4 separate regions of the Homo sapiens genome follow, and all the other regions are linked to region 3. The links are contacts of gene promoters, found by promoter capture Hi-C in blood cells and fetal thymus (Javierre and others, 2016). All regions are on one chromosome and are shown on one strand. The core of a region is centred on a gene start or on the middle of the fragment in contact, and the rest is flanking DNA. Distances in the headings are between cores, read along the strand shown.

Region 1 (2,997 bases), core at 333-2,832, 290 kb before region 3:
CTAGGACTGCTAACCACAACATCACATCACCTGGTATGTACTTGACTTTCTCACTTTCCTAGTTGCCAAGCTCCCTGACAGCCATAACTGTCCTAATTACCTTTCTCTAATGACTAGCATAGGACCCAGAACACAATGGGGGATGAGTGGGGTGCCAATAAAAGCTTACTGAATTAGAAATCTTGCAATTTAAGAGGATCATGCATATTCTTGTGTATTTTTTGTGTCATGCAAACCCAGTTTGCGTCTCTCTCCCTCTCCCCACAAACCCCTGTACCCCAAGTCTCAGCATATGGGGCTAACTCAATGACCCATCCCATAACTTGTTGCAGTCCATCTCTGGTGCTGGCCCCTCTCTGGGGTTATCACCTGGGTTTCGGCCTCAAGCACACGCAGGCGCCGGCTGGCAGAAGACAGCAGGGTCTCCAGCTCCAGCTGCAGGGTGTCCAGCTCCTCGATGCCGATGCCATCATCCTCAGAGCGTGCCAGCACTGCCGTGTAGCGGGGACAGACCTTCAGGTGATCCACAGACTTGAAGTCGTGGAACTGCAAGGGGCAGTCTTTCAACTCACTCATGGCCCAGGATATGGGGATCCTGTGGAGCTGGAGAGGACAGGGCCATTGATGGGAGACAAAGTGGTCTGAGAAAAGCCCAAGGGCTTCTTACCTCCAGGGACAGCCTCAAGGAAGCCCAGCTTCAGTCCCTTACTGACAAAATTGATGGCACAGTTCCTACTCACAGGGCACTTAACTGGGTACCAAGCTAGGTGCAGAGCACTTTATCAGTTTATCTCACTGAATTTCTCACTCAGCACCATGAACAAGGACCATTGTGATCTCGTTTTTACAGAGAAAGAAACTGAGACTCTGTAAGGGTGGGTATGTGCCTATGCTTCCAAGATGCAATTTGAACCCCGCTAGTCTTGAGTCTGCACCCTGATCACCATGCTATACTGCTATGCCTTGCCTCGCCTTTCTGATGCTCTTTCCTTCCCTTCTATTTCTCTTGGGTTCTGCTAAGACTTTGAGTTCCAAGCACCCCATTCTTACCATGTTCTCTGGGACTCTTGGCCTCTTTTCTTACCCTATTCCACCTTTCTCCCTTCTCTAGTCACTAACAGTGGTTTAGAACGTGGGCTGGTAAGCCAGACAGACCTGGGTTCAAGCCCAGGCTTTACCATTCTCTACTTATATGCCCCTGAACATGTTATTTGACCTTTTTCAGTCTCAGTTTTTCCATCTGTAAAATGGGGACAAAAGAAGTCTCGGTCTGTTTCCCCATTAAAAGTCTGAATCTGAAAAATGGGGATAACAATAGTACCTACCTCCCTGGGATGTTCTGAGGATTAAGAGATGATGCCCGTCAAGAGCCCAGTTCAGTGTCTGGCACAGAAGTGGGACTGTTTAATGGCTGGCCCCGCCCGGGGGTCGCCCAAATGTCCCGCCTTCAGAGTCCTCGTTCTCTAGGGACACCCTAGTGCGACCCCCGCCCCCTCTACCTCCTCGCTGCGGCCTCCTACGGCCCCAGGGGCCGCGGGAGGGGGCGGGGAGTTCCGGTCGATGTGAGCAACCGCCCCGGAACTGGCTATGGGCGGGCCCCTTGCAGTTGACGCGGGGGCGGGGAGTCAGCGAGGGCGAGCCTACTGGAGTTTGCCGGGGGTGGGAAGAAGGTGGGCCTCGAGCAAAGCCGCTAGAGGTGGGGTGCGGGTGGTCGGCCTCAGGCGAGCCCCGGGGCACAGCCCGGGGCGGGAGGCGGAGCTTGGCGGCCGAGATCTCCGCGCTGCAGTTAGCCCCGCCGAGCGCCAGGAGCTGCGGGTAGGAGGGGCGAGAGAAAGGATGGGGGTACAGAACCGGAAGAAACGAAGGGCTCGTCCGCTTCGGCTTGTCCTAATTTGGTGCCCAATCTGAAGCTGGGCTGTACCATTGCATACCTGGGGGAGGCTGTGGCAAAGGTGACAAGAAGGCCGAAGGCACAAAGGGAAGCTGCACCCATTCCTGGAGGAGCTTAAATAGTGACTCGAGTGCAAGAATTTAAAAATACCGAGACAGCCCTAGGTGGAAAACTTCCGGAAGGCCCAAGCGTTCGTAAGGGCTCTCTACCCCGCTCGGAGCATAGATGGTACCGTCCGGAAGTCCGGGCGGAGACCGTAGCTGCGCTTCTCGCGAAAGGGCAGGCATCGCGGGGCTGGCCACTTCCGTACTTCCGCTTTCCGGCCCAGCCAGCGCCCGCGATGGTGAGAGAGCCGGGCCCCCGGCCAGGGACCCCCGGCTGTTCGGCCTCAGGGCAGTGGGTCGGTGGGAGATGTGGCTTTGCCGCAGGGGCGCGGGGCCGAGGGATGTCCGGGGGTTGTGGGGACACGATGAGGGTGGGAAAAAGAGACGGGGCGGGGGCCCGAGGTGAGGAAGGGGCGAGTGGGGGTACTCCCTGGTATGAAGTGGGCCTTGTGGCTTCACGGTCAGCCTTCGAAGCAGGTAGGGGCTTTTCCTGAGCCCTGTAGGAACCCGGAAGTGGGGTCTCCTAGGCTCTTTGGAGCATTTCGAGGGTACGTAGTCGGCCTCTTAGCCTCTGAGGCATGAAGCAAGTCCACCTGCCTATCCACAGTGGAACTTCACGACATACGCCCTTTGTCCTCTTCTGCCTTCCTGACCCTACAGTTGCTTAAGGCAGGCGGCCACACTTCCTTATCCCATTCTTGGTACCTCCAGCCCTGCTTCCACCCCATTGGAGGATCTCTCGTGTTGCTTCCATTCAGGCCCTTCCTGGTCAGAACTGAACTGTGTCAGCCTTAGTGTATGTTAGCTGTGATACTGCTCATCCCTCCCTTCCTGGAAGTCCTCCCTTTTTCATACATGTGGGCCTTTTTCATACATGTGGGCCTTTTTCATACGTGTGGGCATTCCTGGGAGTTGTGACTTTGGATGACCATCTCCCTCTTCGTCACACCTTCCCTGGTGATACCGATCTAGTCTCCTGGCTTCGATAACTTTCTTCATTCT
Region 2 (2,769 bases), core at 17-2,516, 430 kb before region 3:
TTAAACAGGATAGATAAGCAGATGTTGATTATTGTTCAAAACCAGTTAATGGGTACATGAGGGTTCATTATACTATTGTCTCCACTTTTGCGAATGTCTGAAATATTCTAATAATAATAATAATGAGAGGCTTCTCATCACAGAATTTCAAGGCAGTCGCTTCACCTCCCTGACTCCCAGTTTCTACCTCAATAAAATAGGGCTGATGATATAATGCACTGTACTCACAGGGATGTTGTGAGCAGCAGGGGGAGAAAGGGTTTTATGAAATGTTGTGTTTTTGTTTTTGTTTTAGAGACGGAGTCTCATTCTGTCACCCAGGCTGGAGTGCAGTGGCGCGATCTCGGCTCACTCTCCGCCTCCCGGGTTCAAGCAATTCTCCTGCCTCAGCCTCCCGAGTAGCTGGGATTACAGGCACCTGCCACCACGCGCGGCTAATTTTTGTATTTTTAGTAGAGACGGGGTTTCACTGCGTTGATCAGGCTGGTCTCGAATGCCTCACTTCATAATCCGCCTGCCTCGGCCTACCAAAGTGCTGGGATTACAGGCGTGAGACACCGCGGCCGGCTGAAATGTTTTAATATTGGTAACCACTGCCATTATGGTTTCTAGTACTAATTTGTTGCCTCCAAGCGTTCTCTCCTCCTCGCCCTGTAATTTTTTTTTTTTCTTAAGACAGAGTATTGCTCTGTCACCCAGGCTGGAGTGTAGTGGTTCGATTTCGGCTCATTGCAACCTCAGCCTCATGGGTTCAAGCGATTCTCCTGCCTCAGCCTCCCAAGTAGTTGGGATTACAGGTGGGTGTCACCATGCCCGGCTAATTTTTTTATTTTTAGTAGAGATGCGGTTTCACCATTTTGGCAGCCTGGTCTCGAACTCTTGGCCTCAAGTGATCCGCCCGCCTCGGCCCCCCAAAGTGCTGGGATGACAGGTGTGAGCCACCACGCTCGGCTTCCCTGTAATTGTTGATTCCACTTTTCCTCTGGTTCTTTTCAATGGTTCCTTCCTGCTACCCCCCTCCCCCGGCAGCCCAATGGTTGAGCCCGGCTTCCCCGGGGGAAACCCCTTGGGGCGGATCACGCGGTATCAGCCAGTGGCCTCCCTGGTGGATAGAAGGATCGCTCTGCGCCGGGGGCGGGCCAGTAATCGTAGGCGGGGCGCGGGTCCAGAGCTCCGATTGGCCAGAGTCGGAGTAAACATCCGGCGGGACGGGGCGGGGCCGGAAGTGGAAGTGGAAGTAGAAGGCGGTGGCTGAGGCGGTTCCGGAGGTTCTAGTGTCGGAGTTGGGTGCAGGCAGGTGCCATGGGCCCGCTTGAGGCACACTGAGGGGACGCGGGGCTGGGCCATGGCCGGCGCTCGGGCCGCCGCCGCCGCTGCCTCGGCGGGGTCCTCGGCCTCTTCAGGCAACCAGCCGCCTCAGGAGCTGGGGCTTGGGGAGCTGCTGGAGGAGTTCTCCCGGACTCAGTACCGGGCCAAGGATGGCAGCGGGACCGGCGGCTCTAAGGTGAGATTGGAGGTGCGATGAGCTGGGGAAGGCTCCTAACTTGGGAAGTTACAGAGGAAAGGCTGAGGCCAGGGGTCAGAAAAAGGTAGGAGTGGTACCTCGCCGCTGAGGAAGAGGAGAGAGAGAGAGGAGTTCTCCAGGGTCTGTATCCGGAGTATAAGAGTCGGTCTTGACAACCATAAAAGGAGGAACTGGGGTCAGAATGAGCCCAGCAAAGAGGTCCTTCTTGTTTGAGAAGGGGTCTGGAGGTGAGAGATCAAGCTGAGGGGCCAGGTTCAAAGATCAGAGAGGAGGACCTAAGGAAGGTCTATTCCCTGCTTCAGGTGCCGTAGGATGAGTTGTGTCAGGGAAAAAGCCCCAAGAAAAAGCTAAGAAAAATAGGGAGACGATTCCTCGGGGTCAGAGGTCAGAATGGAGCCAGGAGGTGAACCCAGTGTGCTGCCCCCTTATAAGGTCTCAGCATGACTTAGGCCCATCCCTTTCCTTCCCCTATAGAGCAGGAAGACAACCCACACTCCCTTTCAGTTCCTTTATCTAAAGCAGGTCTCCGTTCCTCTTTTTGCTCCCTTTGGGATTTCCACCCAGTCGTCTTATCGCCAGACCTGGAGGGCTTCCTGTCAGCTCAGGCCATCCCCACCCTAAGCACTGGCTGGCAGTGCGGTGGGAATCTTGCCGACCCTGCCATCTCATTCCCCCACGTGGTTTTGGCAGCTTTAGCACCAAGTTTTCCAGTGGAATTCTGTTCCATCCTGCACCACAGAACTCTGATTTGACCTCAGAGATTACCGTGAGTTGCTATTCTGTAGTTGGCATCTTGTAGTCTCTGAAGTAACCCAGGGAAGACTTCAGTAAGGATTGGACTTCCTCACTCTCCAAATGGCCAAGTAATTTTTCCAAGTATAGTCTGGGGACCACCTGTTTAATGATCATCTGGGGTACTTTTAAAATTTGTGCTTATGGGATACTTTGTGAAAACAGAGATTCCTTAGTCCCACCCAGTCCTACCAAGTCAGAATTTCTGGGGGTGGGATCCTGGAATTTGCTTTTTTTTTTTTTTTCTTTTGAGAAGGAGTCTCGCTTTGTCGCCTAGGCTGGAGTGCAGTGGCGCAATCTCAGCTTACTGCATCCTCCGCCTCCCCAGTTCAAGCAATTCTCCCTGCCTCAACTTCCCAAGTAGCTGGGATTACAGGACCCCACCACCACGCCCAGCTAATTATTGTAGTTTTTAGTAGAGATGGAGTTTCCCCAGGTTGGCCAGGCTGGTC
Region 3 (2,997 bases), core at 497-2,996:
TTGCACAGGCTGGAGTGCGGTGGTGGGATCTTGGCTCACTGCAAGCTCCGCCTCCCGGGTTCACACCATTATCCTGCCTCAGCCTCCCAAGTAGCTGGGACTACAGGTGCCTGCCACCATGCCTGGCTAATTTTTTGTATTTTTAATAGAGACGAGGTTTCACCGTTGTTAGCCAGGATGGTCTCGATCTCCTGACCTCGTGATCCGCCCGCCTTGGCCTCCCAAAGTGTTGGGATTACAGGTGTGAGCCACTGCGCCCAGCCATATCTTTTTTTTTTTTTTTTAATCTTTCTACATCATCTTGCCCTTAGGAGATGCCACATAAATGTGTATTGAGTGAGCAGTTTGCAGTGAGACTGTATTTCACCCATTCTGCTTCTAGCAGTGTAATATAGCTATTCCACTGGGATCACTCTGGGGTCCTGCCCAGAGTTAATAGTAGCAAAACATTAGAGGAAAACAAGTATGAAAGGATTATTTAATGAACAGACAAAAGGGAAATTCCCTTGAATTAGTCTTTTTTTTTTTTCCCAAACCCTGTGTGTGGCATTCAAAGTCATTTTTTAAATCACAGGATATTTAGGAAACGCATCTTGGATCCACAACTAGAAAGGTATACAGAGGAATTTATAGAGAAAAAGTATGTCTTCTAAACTATCCTGTCTTGAATTATTATTTTACTATTCTGAATATTTATTTTGGACATGCTTGACTTTATTATATGACAGAGCATAATAGCTATCCTTTATATGAGATGGGTGCAGTTTCCTCCCTTGCCTCTTTTTTCTTTTTAGAGACAGAGTCTTGCTCTGTCACCCAGGCTGAAGTGCAGTGGCAAGATCATAGCTCACTGCAACCTTGAACTCCTGGGTTCAAGGATCAAGTGATCCTCCCACCTCAGCCTTCCAAGTATCTAGGGCCACTGGCATGCCCCACTACACCCGGCTAGTTTTTTTATTTGTTTGTTTGTTTGTTGGAGACGGAGTCTTGCTCTGTCCGTCAGTCTGGAGTGCAGTGGCACGATCTTGGCTTACTGCAGCCTCTGCCTCCTGAGCTCAAGTGATTCTTCTGCCTCCTGAGCTCAAGCGATTCTTCTGCCTCAGCCTCCCAAGCAGCTGGGATTACAGGTGCCCACCACCACATCAGCTAATTTTTGTATTTTTAGTAGAGATGGGATTTCACCACATTGGCCAGGCTGGTCTCAGACTCCTGACCTCAAATGATCTGCCTGCCTTGACCTCCCAAAGTACTGGGAGTTTGAGACCAGCCTGGGTAACACAGTGAGACCTGTCTCTACAAAAAGTTAAAAAAAAAAAGTAGCCAGGCATGGTGACGCACACCTGTGATCCCAGCTACCTGGGCGGCTGAGGTGGGACCATCACTTGAGTCCAGGAGGTTGAGGCTGCAGTGAGCTGTGAACACAATATTGCACTCCAGCCTGAGCAACAGAGCGAGACCCTGTCTCAAATATAAGTAAATAAATAAATAAAAGTCAAATTATTTACCCTGCTGGGCGCAGTGGCTCACGCCTCTAATCACAGCACTTTGGGAGGCTGAGACAGGCGTTATCACCTGAGGTCGGGTTTGAGACTAGCCTGGCCAACGTGATGAAACCCATTTCTACTAAAAATACAAAAATTAGTCAGGCATGGTGGTGGGCACCTGTAATGCCAGCTACTTGGGAGGCTGAGGCAGGAGAATTGCTTGAACCTGGGACGCAGAGGTTGTAGTGAGCCAAGATCATGCCACTGCCCTCCAGCCTGGGTGACGGAACAAGACTCTGTCTCAAAAAAAAAATTTTTTTTTCACCCATTGGGAAGTATTAACATGAAATAGCCAGGTGTGGTGGCTCATGCCTGTCCATAATCCCAATACCTTGGGAGGCCAAGGCAGGAGGATTGCTCAAGCCCAGGAGTTTGAAACCAGCCTGGGCAACAAAGTGAGACCCCGTCTGTATAAAAAAATTTAAAAATTCGCTGGGCCCAGGTGTGGTGGTTCATACCTGTAATCCTGGCATATTGGGAGGCCAAGGCAGAAGGATCATCTGAGCCCAGGAGTTTGAGACCAGCTTGGGCAATATAGTGAGACCTCATTTCTTATTAATTAAAAAAAAAAATGTAGCTGGGCATGGTTGTGTGTGCCTATAGTCCCCGCTACTCGGGAGGCTGAGATGGGAGGATAACTTGGGCCCAGGAGTTCAAGGCTGGAATAGCTATGATCTTGCCACTGCACATTTAACAAAAAAGAAAGAAAAAAAATTATCATGAAATGACTAGGACATTCCTGGAACTAATCCTTTCCTCCATGTGACAGGCTACAGAAGTTGTGCAACTTGGGCCCCCTGAGCTGCTTTTCTTGCTGGAAGATCTCTCCCAGAAGCTGGAGAGTATGCTGACACCTCCTATTGCCAGGAGAGTCCCCTTTCTCAAGGTTAGTGTAGGCAGAAGCATAGGACTTGGGCATAGTGGATTTGGGAACAAAGGAGGTATTATGATGAAAAAGTTGTCACTTTCTTTGGCATTGTGTTTGGGTCACTGGGTAGCATGGGTGCAGCCGTATTGCCAGACAATATTCATCTTGCTTTATTTATTTATTTATTTATTTAGAGATGGAGTCTCGCTCTGTCGCCCAGGCTGGAGTGCAGTGGTGTGATCTCGGCTCACTGCAAGCTCCGCCTCCCGGGTTCATGTCATTCTCCTGCCTCAGCCTCCCGAGTAGCTGGGACTACAGGTGCCTGCCACCACGCCTGGCTAATTTTTTGTATTTTTTGTAGAGACGGGGTTTCACCGTGTTAGCCAGGATGGTCTCAATCTCCTGACCTTGTGATCCGCCCACCTTGGCCTCCCAAAGTGCTGGGATTACGGGCATGAGCCACCGCGCCCGGCCTCATCTTGCTTTAAATAGGAAGTCTGAAGGCTGGGCGTGGTGGCTCACGCCTGTAATGCCAGCACTTTGGGAGGCCAAGGAGGGCAGATCACTTGAGTTCAGGAGTTCAAG
Region 4 (3,248 bases), core at 84-2,583, 310 kb before region 3:
AAGGCCATCGAATGGCCTTGGCTGGTACTTCCAATATGAAGCCAGAATGGGCCCCATTCAGAGAACACAGCCTCCCAACCCATCCACAGATGAGGCCAAAACAGAGCCCAGCATGCTTTGTGACCTCAGGGAGAGCACTTTCCTTCTCTCTTTTTCTCTAAGGGAGAATGAGGAGAAGGTGCCCTGACTAGGGCCTCTGGTGTGAGATTCCACTCCTGGAACAGGACCTTTTTCCCAGGGGACCCTGCCCACCCATCCAGGGGCAGAATCTTCTAGGAAAGGAGACTCGAGTGTAAGCTCTAGAGGCAGAGTCTGAAACCCACATGGAGGCCTACCAAATACAACCCTCACAGATCCACACACATCCCTGTAGCAGACATGCCACACCAAGCCCCCTCCACAGCCCTGAACTCAAACACCTGCCTCCCAGATCCAGTACGCCTTGTATCCACATCCCGTGACACCTGATCATACATGTACTCCCAGACATCAGCACACATGTCCACACCACACAGTGCCCCAGACAGCCCTGCACCCGAACACCTGCCTGTCCATCCAAACATCCCTCACCCAGCTCCCTCTTACACCCCAAAACACACATCCACCCGCACCCACACAAGATGACACCCAGACACACACACACACACCCTCATATACCAGACGTACCCTACACCCTCCAGCTCCTCTACCCCATCCCCTGGAAGCTCCTGTATTCCAAACCAAACCCCAAGTCCTTACACACCTAACTCCAAACATCCTCAGTACACAATTGTACACCCCCTCCTAACTCTGACTTAAGACCCTGAGAGCCAAATACCAGCACACAAAACACGTGGACACCCCTCTGGAACAAAAAACACACAGATTCCCAGATCCTCCACCCATGTCTGACCCACACGCCTGTCCTAAGACAGTACACTCCGCAAGCCCCCCCACCCCATGGATACCTCCAAATGCCCACGCCCTTCCAGTCAGGCCCAGCTGAAGGCGCTCACACAGGCCCCCTTCTCTATTACCCACTCAGTGTCCCATAGGCCCGCCTGGCACCTGCTGGGCCTGGGACAGAGGTGGAGAAAGGCCCAGCCCTGCCCCTCAGGGTCCAGCCCGCCCGGGAGAGTGCCCAGTGGCCACTCCTTGGGAAAGGATACCCAGAGGCTAGGGGCTCCCACCGCCCCCACGCAGCGCCCAGGGGTGCAGGGATGGGGGGCCCGGCTGTACCTGCGGCTGCCCCGCCGCGGGGCTGGCTGGGAGGCCCGCGGTGGTTGGCGCCGAGCTGTGGCCGCGGTCCTCACCGCTGCGTGCCTGGGCCACCCGCCCGCGCTCTTGCTGGAGCTGGGGCTCGGCTCGGCTCGGCGGCTCTCTCCGCCCGCCTGCGGCTCTGATGTCAGTGGAGGTGGAGCCTGCGGCGGAGGGACCCGGGATTGGGAGGCGAGGCACCGCTCCAAGGCTGGGGAAGGGGCACGGGTGGAGGCCATCTCCCTGCTTCTGGTCAGAGATCTCCTGCTGGACGCTTCCCGCCCTTGGTCTTAAGCGGGGTCCATTTCACAGAGGGGACAACTGAGGCCCGGAGAGATGATTTTCAAATCAGCGGGTGGTCGGAAGCAAAGCAGGATTCGAACCCCGTCTGTCTGAAGCTAGAGGCCGGCCAAACTCACCCTGTGGCCTGGTGGATTTTCTTTCAGACCAGTTCTGCGACCTCCCTTAGGGCTCTGTCTCCCTTCTCCGTGCCCTGAAGGGAAACAGGCCCTGGAACTGCACGGGAGTCTGGTGGGGGATGGGGGAGTGAGGGAGTGGGGAAGGACCGGGCAAGACTAGGCAATGAAGAGAGTGGAGGTGGTCGCAGGGTGTGGGCCCCACTTGACAGGTGGGAAGACTGAGGCCCCGGTTCCTCTGCAAGATGGAGCTGAGGCTTCAGCCCCAGACACTTGCTCCTCAGAGCGGGTGGTGGTGCCTAGAGGTATTGGGGGCAGAGGGAATTGGGGAGGAGGAAGTTAAATCGGGATCCTGAAGGAAACAGGCCAAAAAGGACCGAGGTGTCACGTGACTGGCGGGGCTCCAGAGTTTGATGGCTGGGGTCCAGGTTAGGGGAGAGAGCCTGCAACTAGGACGGCAGGCAAGAGGCCAAAGGTCGGTTTGCTCAAGGCCTTCCTTGGGAAGAAATTTGGTGCCGAGTGGAAAGAGGGGGCGGGGGGAGCAACTCGCAGGAATTGGGGATGGGGCTGAACTGGGGGCAGCCGGAGGAGGCACGTTGCTTGGGACCCCACTCCACCTCCAAGGGCCTCCAAGTGCCACTCCCTACTCCTGAATTCTTGCATGTTCCAGCTGGTGATGGGGAGAGAACAGTGCTTATGCCCAGCTCATTTCCTTTTTCTCTTTCTTTCTTTCTTTTTTCTTTCTTTCTCTTCTTCTTTTTTTCTTTTTCTTTTTTTTTTAAGACAGGGTCTTGCTCTGTCACCCAGGCTGGAGTGCAATGGCATGATCACGGCCCACTGCAGCCTCAAACTCCTGGGCTCAAGTCATCTTCCTACCTCAGCCTCCCATGTAGATGGGACTACAGGTGCGTGCCACCACACCTGGCTTTTTTATTTTTTGTAGAGATGGGGATCTCACTATATTGCCCAGGCTGGTCTCAAACTCCTGGGCTCAAGCAATCCTCCCCAATCAGCTTCCCAAGGTTCTGGAATTACAGGCATGAGCCACTGCACCTGGCCAATTTATTATGCCCATCTTACAGATGAGAGAGGAAGATAGCTGAGGTTCCTGGAAAGGCTTTGGAGTCTAACTGATCCTGGTCATGCTTTACCTCTCCGAACCTCAGTTTCTTACTCGGGAACATGGGAATATTGAAGATTGACTCAGAGTTCTGAGAATTCTATGATATAATGATATGAAGTGCCTAGAACACTATTCAAAACATGAGAGCTAGACTCAGTGTAAACTGAGACTCAGAGAGAGGACTTGATTTGGCCAGGGATGAGGGGTTAAGGGATCCATCTTCCAAATCTCAGTATCTCAGACTCCTTAGTTCATGGAAAAATACATTTCCTGCTCAGGGCTGAGCCCCCACTCTCCCCTATACCCACCAAGCACACCCACTGAGCTAGGGGTTCTTTTACCACAAATTCCTGTTCATCTTGATGACAACACCCCCTGGGTGATAAGATGACCTCTGTCCTTTCGAGGACTTGTACAACTTCTTTTTTTTTTTTTTTTTTTTTTTTTTGAGACAGTCTCCCTCTGTTGCCCAG

What was found. The method cuts DNA at HindIII sites, captures the fragments that hold promoters and counts their contacts. A CHiCAGO score of 5 or more calls a contact.
Region 1: a contact is called between the fragment with the promoter of TADA3 here and a fragment that was not itself captured in region 3, in 3 of 17 cell types (naive CD8 T cells, neutrophils and erythroblasts). The highest score is 5.3, in naive CD8 T cells.
Region 2: a contact is called between the fragment with the promoter of MTMR14 here and a fragment that was not itself captured in region 3, in 1 of 17 cell types (neutrophils). The highest score is 5.2, in neutrophils.
Region 4: the fragment with the promoter of CAMK1 here is called in contact with a fragment that was not itself captured in region 3 in 1 of 17 cell types (monocytes); the score reaches 5.5 in monocytes.

The regions. Positions count from the first base shown.
Region 1 is chr3:9,790,891-9,793,887 of GRCh38, forward strand. TADA3 (transcriptional adaptor 3) reads right to left here and starts at 1,583. Exons shown (of 9, transcript NM_006354.5): 1 at 1,326-1,583; 2 at 370-603. The coding sequence starts at 576. It overlaps ARPC4-TTLL3 (ARPC4-TTLL3 readthrough), which reads left to right and starts at 1,658. Exons shown (of 12, transcript NM_001198793.1): 1 at 1,658-2,234. The coding sequence starts at 2,232. ARPC4 (actin related protein 2/3 complex subunit 4) reads left to right here and starts at 2,192. Exons shown (of 6, transcript NM_005718.5): 1 at 2,192-2,234. The coding sequence starts at 2,232. It also overlaps a transcript of OGG1 not described here. RefSeq lists enhancers at 1-410, 1,515-2,041, 1,968-2,067, 2,042-2,568, 2,768-2,857 and silencers at 1,398-1,487, 1,548-1,837. The HindIII fragment of the contact is 10,858 bases long and covers 163-2,997 here.
Region 2 is chr3:9,648,239-9,651,007 of GRCh38, forward strand. MTMR14 (myotubularin related protein 14) reads left to right here and starts at 1,267. Exons shown (of 19, transcript NM_001077525.3): 1 at 1,267-1,504. The coding sequence starts at 1,346. RefSeq lists enhancers at 862-1,091, 899-1,794, 1,081-1,250 and silencers at 1,122-1,231, 1,332-1,431. The HindIII fragment of the contact is 16,951 bases long and covers 1-2,769 here.
Region 3 is chr3:10,075,768-10,078,764 of GRCh38, forward strand. It overlaps FANCD2 (FA complementation group D2), which reads left to right. Exons shown (of 44, transcript NM_001018115.3): 30 at 2,314-2,430. Among named protein-coding and RNA genes, the nearest start is that of FANCD2OS, 31 kb to the right of the region's middle. The HindIII fragment of the contact is 8,985 bases long and covers 1-2,997 here.
Region 4 is chr3:9,768,614-9,771,861 of GRCh38, forward strand. CAMK1 (calcium/calmodulin dependent protein kinase I) reads right to left here and starts at 1,334. Exons shown (of 12, transcript NM_003656.5): 1 at 1,219-1,334. It also overlaps a transcript of OGG1 not described here. RefSeq lists a silencer at 1,105-1,284. The HindIII fragment of the contact is 10,493 bases long and covers 1-3,248 here.